Regions from separate parts of the Homo sapiens genome. Here region 1 is linked to region 2. Evidence: promoter capture Hi-C in 16 types of primary human blood cells and fetal thymus (Javierre and others, 2016). All regions are on one chromosome and are shown on one strand. The core of a region is centred on a gene start or on the middle of the fragment in contact, and the rest is flanking DNA. Distances in the headings are between cores, read along the strand shown. Region 1 holds the start of TSTD2 (thiosulfate sulfurtransferase like domain containing 2). Region 2 holds the start of IPPK (inositol-pentakisphosphate 2-kinase).

Region 1 (3,938 bases), core at 791-3,290, 5.0 Mb before region 2:
AATTGTATTTTCTGTGCCTTGTACAGAGGTTACACAAGAAACCTCGTGTTAGAAATCAAAGCACGCAGCATAGTTATTTAATTTATACCTGTGTAGTGAAGAGAGCCCCGGACTGGATTCGCTCTTGCTGGTGTTTGGGAACTGACAGCTGTCCCTCCATCTTAGTTATGCTCAGTCTCTAGACCCTTAGGTGTCAGATAGAAAGCTGGACTAGAATATCCTCTCAAGCCATTCCTTCGTAGAAATCTGGTGTTTCACTATTAAAACTAAATGCATGCGATTCTGCCTCCACCTCAACTGCCACAACACTCAAGGAGAGACAAACGTTAGTAGATAAAATTTACTCAATTTAAAATGTCTGTTATGGGTTTTTTTCTTACATTGACAGCATCTGCTAACGTTTACCGCCTCTTAAGCGTTGGCAAATGATAAAACATCATTGTTGCTGATGTGTATTACCTCATTTAACCTTCACAAAAACCAGAAGATATAAATATCATTACTTCTGTATTACAGACTAAAGTTTAAGGAGATTTCATAACCTGGACAAGATCACCAAGTAAATGGTAGGGTCTGGCTTTGAACCTAAACCCTCTGGTTCCAAAGTCTCATCTCTTAACCACTACTATACACTCTCTTCAAAAAACAATACACTAAAATGTTAACAATAGAATTACTCTAAGTTTTACTTTTTTGGTGTGTGGATTTGTGTTTTTGACCGATTGTAAGGCTTATGTGTAATATAAGCATCTTTTTTTTGTTGTTGTTAAAACTAGAATTATTCCATCTTTATGAAGGCAACACTGATCTCCACGAGCACAATCATCCAAACGGAGATGGGAACCCCTGTTCTAACTCTCTCAGAGGCCTGAAGTTAGTTTTCTAGCACTCTCTCTCACACAAGGGAAATGCGCTTACGGCCAGTTCAAAATCTGCAGTAACCTGTGTCTGTTTATTAGGGACCTCTTGGGCGCAGGTAAGACAATATTCTTTCCCTGCAGCTTGAAAGAAGTGAAATCAACGGATAACCACTACCGGAACAGAGTTCAGACTGCAACTCATGAGATCTCTCAGTCCTTTCCTTCAGTGAATTCTTCCGAGCCCTTTTCAGGTGCAGCTTTGAAGGTTAAAACGAGACACTAGGACCAGTGGGTCCCTAAGAGGCGGCAGCACAGACACAGGTGTGCTTCCCTGCTCCGTGGTTTTACGGACGAAATTCTGAAGCATCCTTAGAGACCAAGGGTCTACCCATGGGGTTCACCAGGCCTTCTTTCCCGAGGATCGGCCCTTGACTCAAAGAACTGGGGCGGGGGAGAAGTCGCTTTCTAGAAGCCGCCCGACCACACCGCCACCATATTCTCCTCTTTCCCTCCGCGGCTCCCCGCACGTTCCCGGGGAGAAGAGCTTCCAGTCTCTTCCGTGGACACCCAAAGACGCCGAGCCTCGGCTCCCAACCGGGAGCGGCCTCCGTGGCCGGGCCGCAGGCACTCACCGTCGTTCTCGTCGCTGTGCCGCCGCCGCGACATGCTGCCCTCCGGTGCGCCGCGGAACCGAGAGGCCAGGCGGTAAGCGCTGCAGGAACTGTCTGGCCGCTGGCCGACGCAAGGACAGCTGCAAGGCGCGCGGATGGGCCGGCACGCAGGCGCACTAGCTCGCCACGGCCCCGGAAGCGCAGGAGAGGCCGCCGGGTGGGGCTAGGCGCTGCGACAGCCGGCGTGAGGAAGCTCAGTGGGCTACGAACGTCTGGCACACATGCAACCGCCCCCTCGGGCTGCCTCCGCCTGCCGGCTACTTCTTTCTCCCGCCTTCCGCTCTATGTCCTTCCGGGGCCACGCAGAAAGTGCCGCCGCTTTGGCCACTCAGAGCCCCCGGGCCGCGGTCGTCGTACGCCTGAAGGCGGGTCGTGCCGGCGGCCGCTCTAGTCTCCGCCTCCGCTCAGGCCGGTCCTCCGGGGCTTCTCAATGGTTTCCCGGTGGCCTCTCAATGGTTTTCCCGGCGGCCCTTGCGCCGACGCCAGGAGACTTCCGGAGCTTGGTGACGTCACGAGCGAGCTTTTCTACCCAAATACGCGGCGGGGGAATAGGCTCGAGGGCGGTGAGCAGTGACAATTGCTAGGCGGAGACAGTGCAGGGAAGAGAGACCTTAGAAAGGATCAGGACTGGCGGGTATGTGCTCATCTACTCCCACTTTCCGGCTTTTGCCGCCTTGGGAAAAGTGGGAGGAGAGGTTGGGCCAAGCTCGGCATGCGGGGTGGGGCCTGGGCGGGAGGCGGTGCCGCACGTGCCGCCCCTTGGTATGGAAAGGCCGGCCCTGACGCGAGCGTGCGGCTCCGGGCTTGCCGGCTGGCCGTCATTTTCCTTAAGTTGTTTGCTTAGGAAGGAACAAATGATTGTTTTAGTAATCTGTTTTCAAGGGTTATTGGGTACCTATATGCCTGTGTGTGAGCGTCCCCTCCCCTGATGTCTTTATGAGCACCATACTGGCTTATCTGCTTTGTCCATGGCCATCTGAAATTTCACTCTCCCGGCCTAATTCTCCTTCGGTCTTACCCATTTCAGTAAATGACGTCATCCGTCGGCCGCTTAATCCAAAAATTTAGAGTCTTTCTTAGCTCTTTTCCCTCTTTTTACATAACAATTATCTGTAAACCCTGCCTGCTCTGCTTTCAACACAAATCCAGAATCAGATCGTGTTACTGCTTTGTTTAAAAGTCTCCTATGACGGCCGGGCGGGGTAGCTAACGCTTGTAATCCTAACACTTATGGGAGGCCGACGCGGGCGGATCCGCTTGAGCCTAGGAGTTCAAGACCCACCTGGGCAACAAGGCGAACACCGTCTTTACAGGAAAAAAAAAAAAATTAGCTGAGCCTAGTGTTTGGCGCCTGTAGTCCCAGTTACTCGAGGGGAGGGTTGGGGGCCGAGGTGGGAGGATCCCTTGAGCCCAGGAGGTCGAGAATGCAGTGAGCGGTGATCGCACACTGCACTCCAGCCTGGGCAACAAAGTGAGACCGTGTCAAAAAAAAAAAGTCTCCTACGACTTTCCATTGCACACTCCATGCCATGGCCTGTGGGGTTCTACTTCTCCTCACTGTACTCCAACCACTCTTTCTGTTCTTACAATAAGTCAAGCTTGTTCTTATTTTAGGAACTTATACTATTTCCTTTACCTGAAGGTCTCTGGTTCTAAATCTGCGTGGCTGGCTCTTGGTCACTTAGGTCTCAGCTCAAATGTCAGGTCCTTAGTGAGGCCTTCTTTGGTTACCCAATCACTGTTTTATTTCATTCAACGAATATTATATTTATTAGCATTTAGCACCTCCTAGGTGCCAGGCAGAGTTCTGAATGCTGAGGATGTAGAGGTGAACAAAGGAAAACCCCTGCTCTCTTGGCGCTGATATATTCTAACGACCCATTCAGGAATACCCACAAATAGTGCCATCATAGGTAGTGAGCAACGGGAGAGTGGTAGATGAGATCAGAGAGGTAGGGGGAAGGTGCTCTGTGAGGACTTTGGACATTATCCAAGTGAATTGAGAAGTCATTGGAGTATGATTTTTTTTTTTTGAGACAGGGTCTCGCTCTGTTGCCCAGGCTGGAGTGCAGTGGCACGGTCTTGGCTCGTTGTAACCTCTGCCTTTTAGGTTCAGGCAATTCTTGTGCCTTAGCCACCCAAGTAGCGGCAATTACAGACATGCGCCACCACACCAGGCTAATTTGTATATTTTTAGTAGAGATGGGGTTTCGCCATGTTGGCCAGGCTGGTCTTGAACTCCTGGCCTCCCAAAGTGCTGAGATTACAGGCATGAGCCTCTGTGCAGGGCCAGTCTGACTTATTTTTTTAATAGTTACTTCTCATGCTCCCAAAGGAGGAAGATAGTTCAGCTTTTGCAGTAATTCTAGCTGCAAATGATAGTAGCTTGAACTAGGGTGGTAGTAAA
Region 2 (3,623 bases), core at 684-3,183:
ACTGCAACCTCTACCTCCCGGGTTCAAGTAATTCTCCTGCCTCAGCCTCCCGAGTAGCTGGGATTGCAGGCGTGCACCACACACCCAGCTAATTTTTGTATTTTTAGTAGAGATGGGGTTTCACCATATTGGCCAGGCTGGTCTCAAACTCCTGACCTCATGATCCACCGCCTTGGCCTCCCAAAGTGCTGGGATTACAGGCGTGAGCCACCACACCCAGCCTCCCCCACTTTTTTTTTTTGAGACAGAATCTTGCTTTGTCACCCAGGCTAGAGTGCAGTGGCTTGATCACGGCTCACTGCAGCCTCAACCTCCCGGGCACAAGCGATCCTCCCGCCTCAGCCCCTCAGCCCTACAAGTAGCTGGGGCTACAGGCACAGATACCACACCCTGCTAATTTTTTGTAGAGACAGGGTTTCACCATGTTGCCAGGCTGGTTTGGAATTCCTAAGCTCAAGCGATCCGCCCACCTCGGCCTCCCAGAATGCTGGGATTACAGGCATGAGTCACCATGCCCTGCCCCAGCCTCCCTTTTGAGGCCTAAAATGGAGGAAAGAGATGCTCAAAGCCTTCAGCTCATTTTCCTGAGTCACTGGCCTGATTTCACTACAATTCCCAAGGCCTGGCAAGGTGCCCAGCCGTTCTCAAAGTTGGGTCTGCAGGTCCTCTCTTTGTGAACTACATAACTGCAGATGTTCTTCACAATGTGTATGTCAACCAATGCAATATATTGCAGCAGACCGAATGCCGAAGCACATGTGAGAACCTATTAGGTCAGATTTTAAAAAGATTTGCAAAAGTGTAAAACAATACCACTCCTTTATTTTGGTGGTGGGCGTGGAATGTAATGTTTACTTTTTTTTTTTTTTTTTTTTTTGAGATGGAGTCTCACTCTGTCGTCCACGCTGGAGTGCAATGGCGCGATCTTGGCTTACCGCAACCTCCGCCTCCTGGGTTCAAATGATTCTCTTGCCTCAGCCTCCGGAGTAGCTGGGATTACAGGCCTGCGCCACCATACCTGGCTCATTTTTGTATTTTTAGTAGAGACAGGGTTTCACCATGTTGGCCAGGCTGGTCTCAAACTCCTGACCTCAGGTGATACGCCCGCCTCAGCCTCCCAAAGTGCTGGGATTACAGGCGTGAGCTACCGCGCCCGGCTGTTTACTTTTAAACGAAACAACAAAAAACTTTAAAGCATTTTAACTTAGAATGTGGTAACATCGATAGCTGTAACCCACATTAGCAAAAGCTTGGGGCCCTCATTTTTATGAGTATAAAGTGGTCCTGAGACTACGAGTTTGGGAAATGCGGTAGCTCTACGAGGCGGTGCCATTCTTGCCGCCGCATCAGTGAATTTAGGAGAAGGAAGGTCGTTAGCCCTCTGCCTCACCGCCAAGCAGGAGCCTTGCGCTCCAACTGCGTCCCTCGAAGTCTTCAGGCAAAAGCGGGACTGGGGAGTCCAGTCCTGTGGCCCAGCCACATTTCCTCGCGTAGAACGTTGGACAATGTTTTCTACCTCACAGGACCATCCAAATGACTGCGTTAGGTATTCCCATGAAATGTACGATGAGTACACCCTATTCTACAGAAGCAAAAGCTGAGGCTCAGAGACGCCAAGAGGTTTGCTGGGGTCTCGCGACTAAGCGGTCCCAACACCCAGACACCCTGGCTACCCGGGGACTGCCGGTCACTACCGGGCGCCGAAAAGCCGCCGGCTCCTTCCGCCAGCTACACATCCGGCGCCGAGGCCGGAAGCTTCTCTTCCGGCTCCCAAGACCGCGTTCCGGAAATGAGTCGCTCTACCAGTACCTAAGATGGCCGCCGGCCCATCCACCGTCGCGATCGGTGTGAGGAAAGTGTCACGAACCCGGAATTGCCCGACTCCGTCATGGCAGGCGCCGGGGGCGTGGCTTCCGGCGGCCACAGCTTGCTAGTCGCCGCGGCGGGGTCGAGCGGGGGCGGCAGCTGACAGGCGCTCCTCCCCCGACCGCAGCGGCTGGTTCCCAGCGAGGCGGGCGGCCCCCAGCTCGCGTCCCCGAGTCCTAGCCCGCGAGGCGCCAGGGCTGCGCCTGGGCATGGAAGAGGGGAAGATGGACGAGAATGAATGGGGGTACCACGGAGAGGGCAATAAGAGCCTGGTGGTGGCCCACGCGCAGGTGAGCGGTGGACGTGCGGCGCAGGTCCGGTACCTCACTCCGACGGCCGGTATCACCCCGCCCCCATTATCCGTTTCCTCAACAGGGTCGGTTCCACGTCCCCCCAGTACCTTCCTCCTCCCCGGCCGGTCTCCGGAATTCCCCCACCCTCCAGCATCCCCCCCTACCGCTTGGGTTCCTCATCACCCCAGTATCCCCTCTCTACTGGGTCAGTCTCCCATTGCCCCAGATCCTTCTCCTGGCCGGTCTGTCGTCCCCTCAGTATTCCCGTTCCCCGTCAGAGTCAGTTCCACATCCCCCTCCCCGCCCCGTCGGTGCCGCGCTCAGCCTCACGCGGTGCCGCCTCCCGCCTGGATGCCCGCCGGACTGCCAGGCCGCAGTGGGGTGGAGGCTTGGTTGGGACGGAGGGCCCGGCCAGCACTGGAGGAAGAAGCAGAGTGCCCACAGTGCTGTTACTCTCAGCACCAAAAGAGTTCAGCCTCGTGAGACTACGGAATTGCTGTGCTGTTAATAGTAAGGGGATGTTGTCCACAGGTCCTCTTCTCAACCTTTTAGAATTTGAAGGCTTTCACCTGAATTCAACGAGGGTGAAAGTTTTAGAAACTGCAGTAAGATCTCGCAAAGGTGAATCCCAAGAGTGAAGCGTGTGGGTTTCTGTGAGGGCCCAGATCTCTCTGACCTTTTGCTGTCTGGTACAACCACGCAGGAATGTGGCCGGCTGGAACGGGGGAGGGGGGTGAGGGAGGCGAGGATAGGTGTCATGTAGGGAGGAGTTAGAGCATGGGTGTTAAAGGCACAGGAATCTCAGTGTCTACATTTGTGAAGTGGAACTAGTAGTAGAATTCACTTTGTGGGATTGTTGCAAAGACCAGTTACGCAGGAACCCATCAAGTTATGCTTAGCAAGTGATAATTGTCATCCCTTGGACAGATAAATAAAGTGAAAATCAGAGAGGTTAAGGGCATTGCCCGAGTCGAACAGCTTGTCAGGGATGATGTAGGCAGTGGAGTCCTGCCTTGCTTCTGTTGTTCCTATGCTGGGTGCATTGGTCAGCTGTAGTGTAAGCTGCAAACACCCAGGTAGCCCCTAGGTTGTGCCTTTGGATTTTGTTGCTCATTAGCACAGGGAACTAAAGAACAGAGACTACAAGCTTTGCTCAAGATCTTTAGGTGAATTAATAATGGACCAGGCTAACCTAAAGCTGTCCTTCTCTTGTGTAGTCCACTATTGGCAAAGTGAGGGATGTTTCTGCGTGAGTCCTTTTGTTGTTGGGTTACTGTGCTGATCCCCTGAATCCTTTCCCAAAACAAATACTAATCTTCCAATTCCTTGGTAAGATTAGATGTATCTCTGCATTTTAGGTAAACCTAAGACTTTTCTTTAGTGAGGGCTGATACATTAAATTTCAAAAGTAGTGGCAGATGAAGCAGCAAGTTTCAGGCTTGGAGCAAAAGGACACCCATGTTG

What was found. Contacts are between HindIII fragments. The CHiCAGO score rates a contact against its expected background, and 5 or more counts as called.
Region 1: the fragment with the promoter of TSTD2 here is called in contact with the fragment with the promoter of IPPK in region 2 in 2 of 17 cell types (total B cells and non-activated CD4 T cells); the score reaches 6.1 in total B cells.

Annotation. Positions count from the first base shown.
Region 1 is chr9:97,631,470-97,635,407 of GRCh38, reverse strand. It overlaps TSTD2 (thiosulfate sulfurtransferase like domain containing 2), which reads left to right and starts at 2,040. Exons shown (of 10, transcript NM_139246.5): 1 at 2,040-2,165. NCBP1 (nuclear cap binding protein subunit 1) reads right to left here and starts at 1,587. Exons shown (of 23, transcript NM_002486.5): 1 at 1,493-1,587. The coding sequence starts at 1,526. RefSeq lists enhancers at 1,090-1,169, 727-1,562, 1,727-2,021, 1,790-2,119. The HindIII fragment of the contact is 4,009 bases long and covers 1-3,131 here.
Region 2 is chr9:92,668,441-92,672,063 of GRCh38, reverse strand. It overlaps IPPK (inositol-pentakisphosphate 2-kinase), which reads left to right and starts at 1,933. Exons shown (of 13, transcript NM_022755.6): 1 at 1,933-2,156. The coding sequence starts at 2,076. LOC107987095 (a long non-coding RNA gene) reads right to left here and starts at 1,702. Exons shown (of 2, transcript XR_001746837.2): 1 at 1,391-1,702. RefSeq lists enhancers at 1-105, 363-657, 1,412-1,461, 1,472-1,921, 2,662-2,831 and a silencer at 1,962-2,141. The HindIII fragment of the contact is 1,551 bases long and covers 1,758-3,308 here.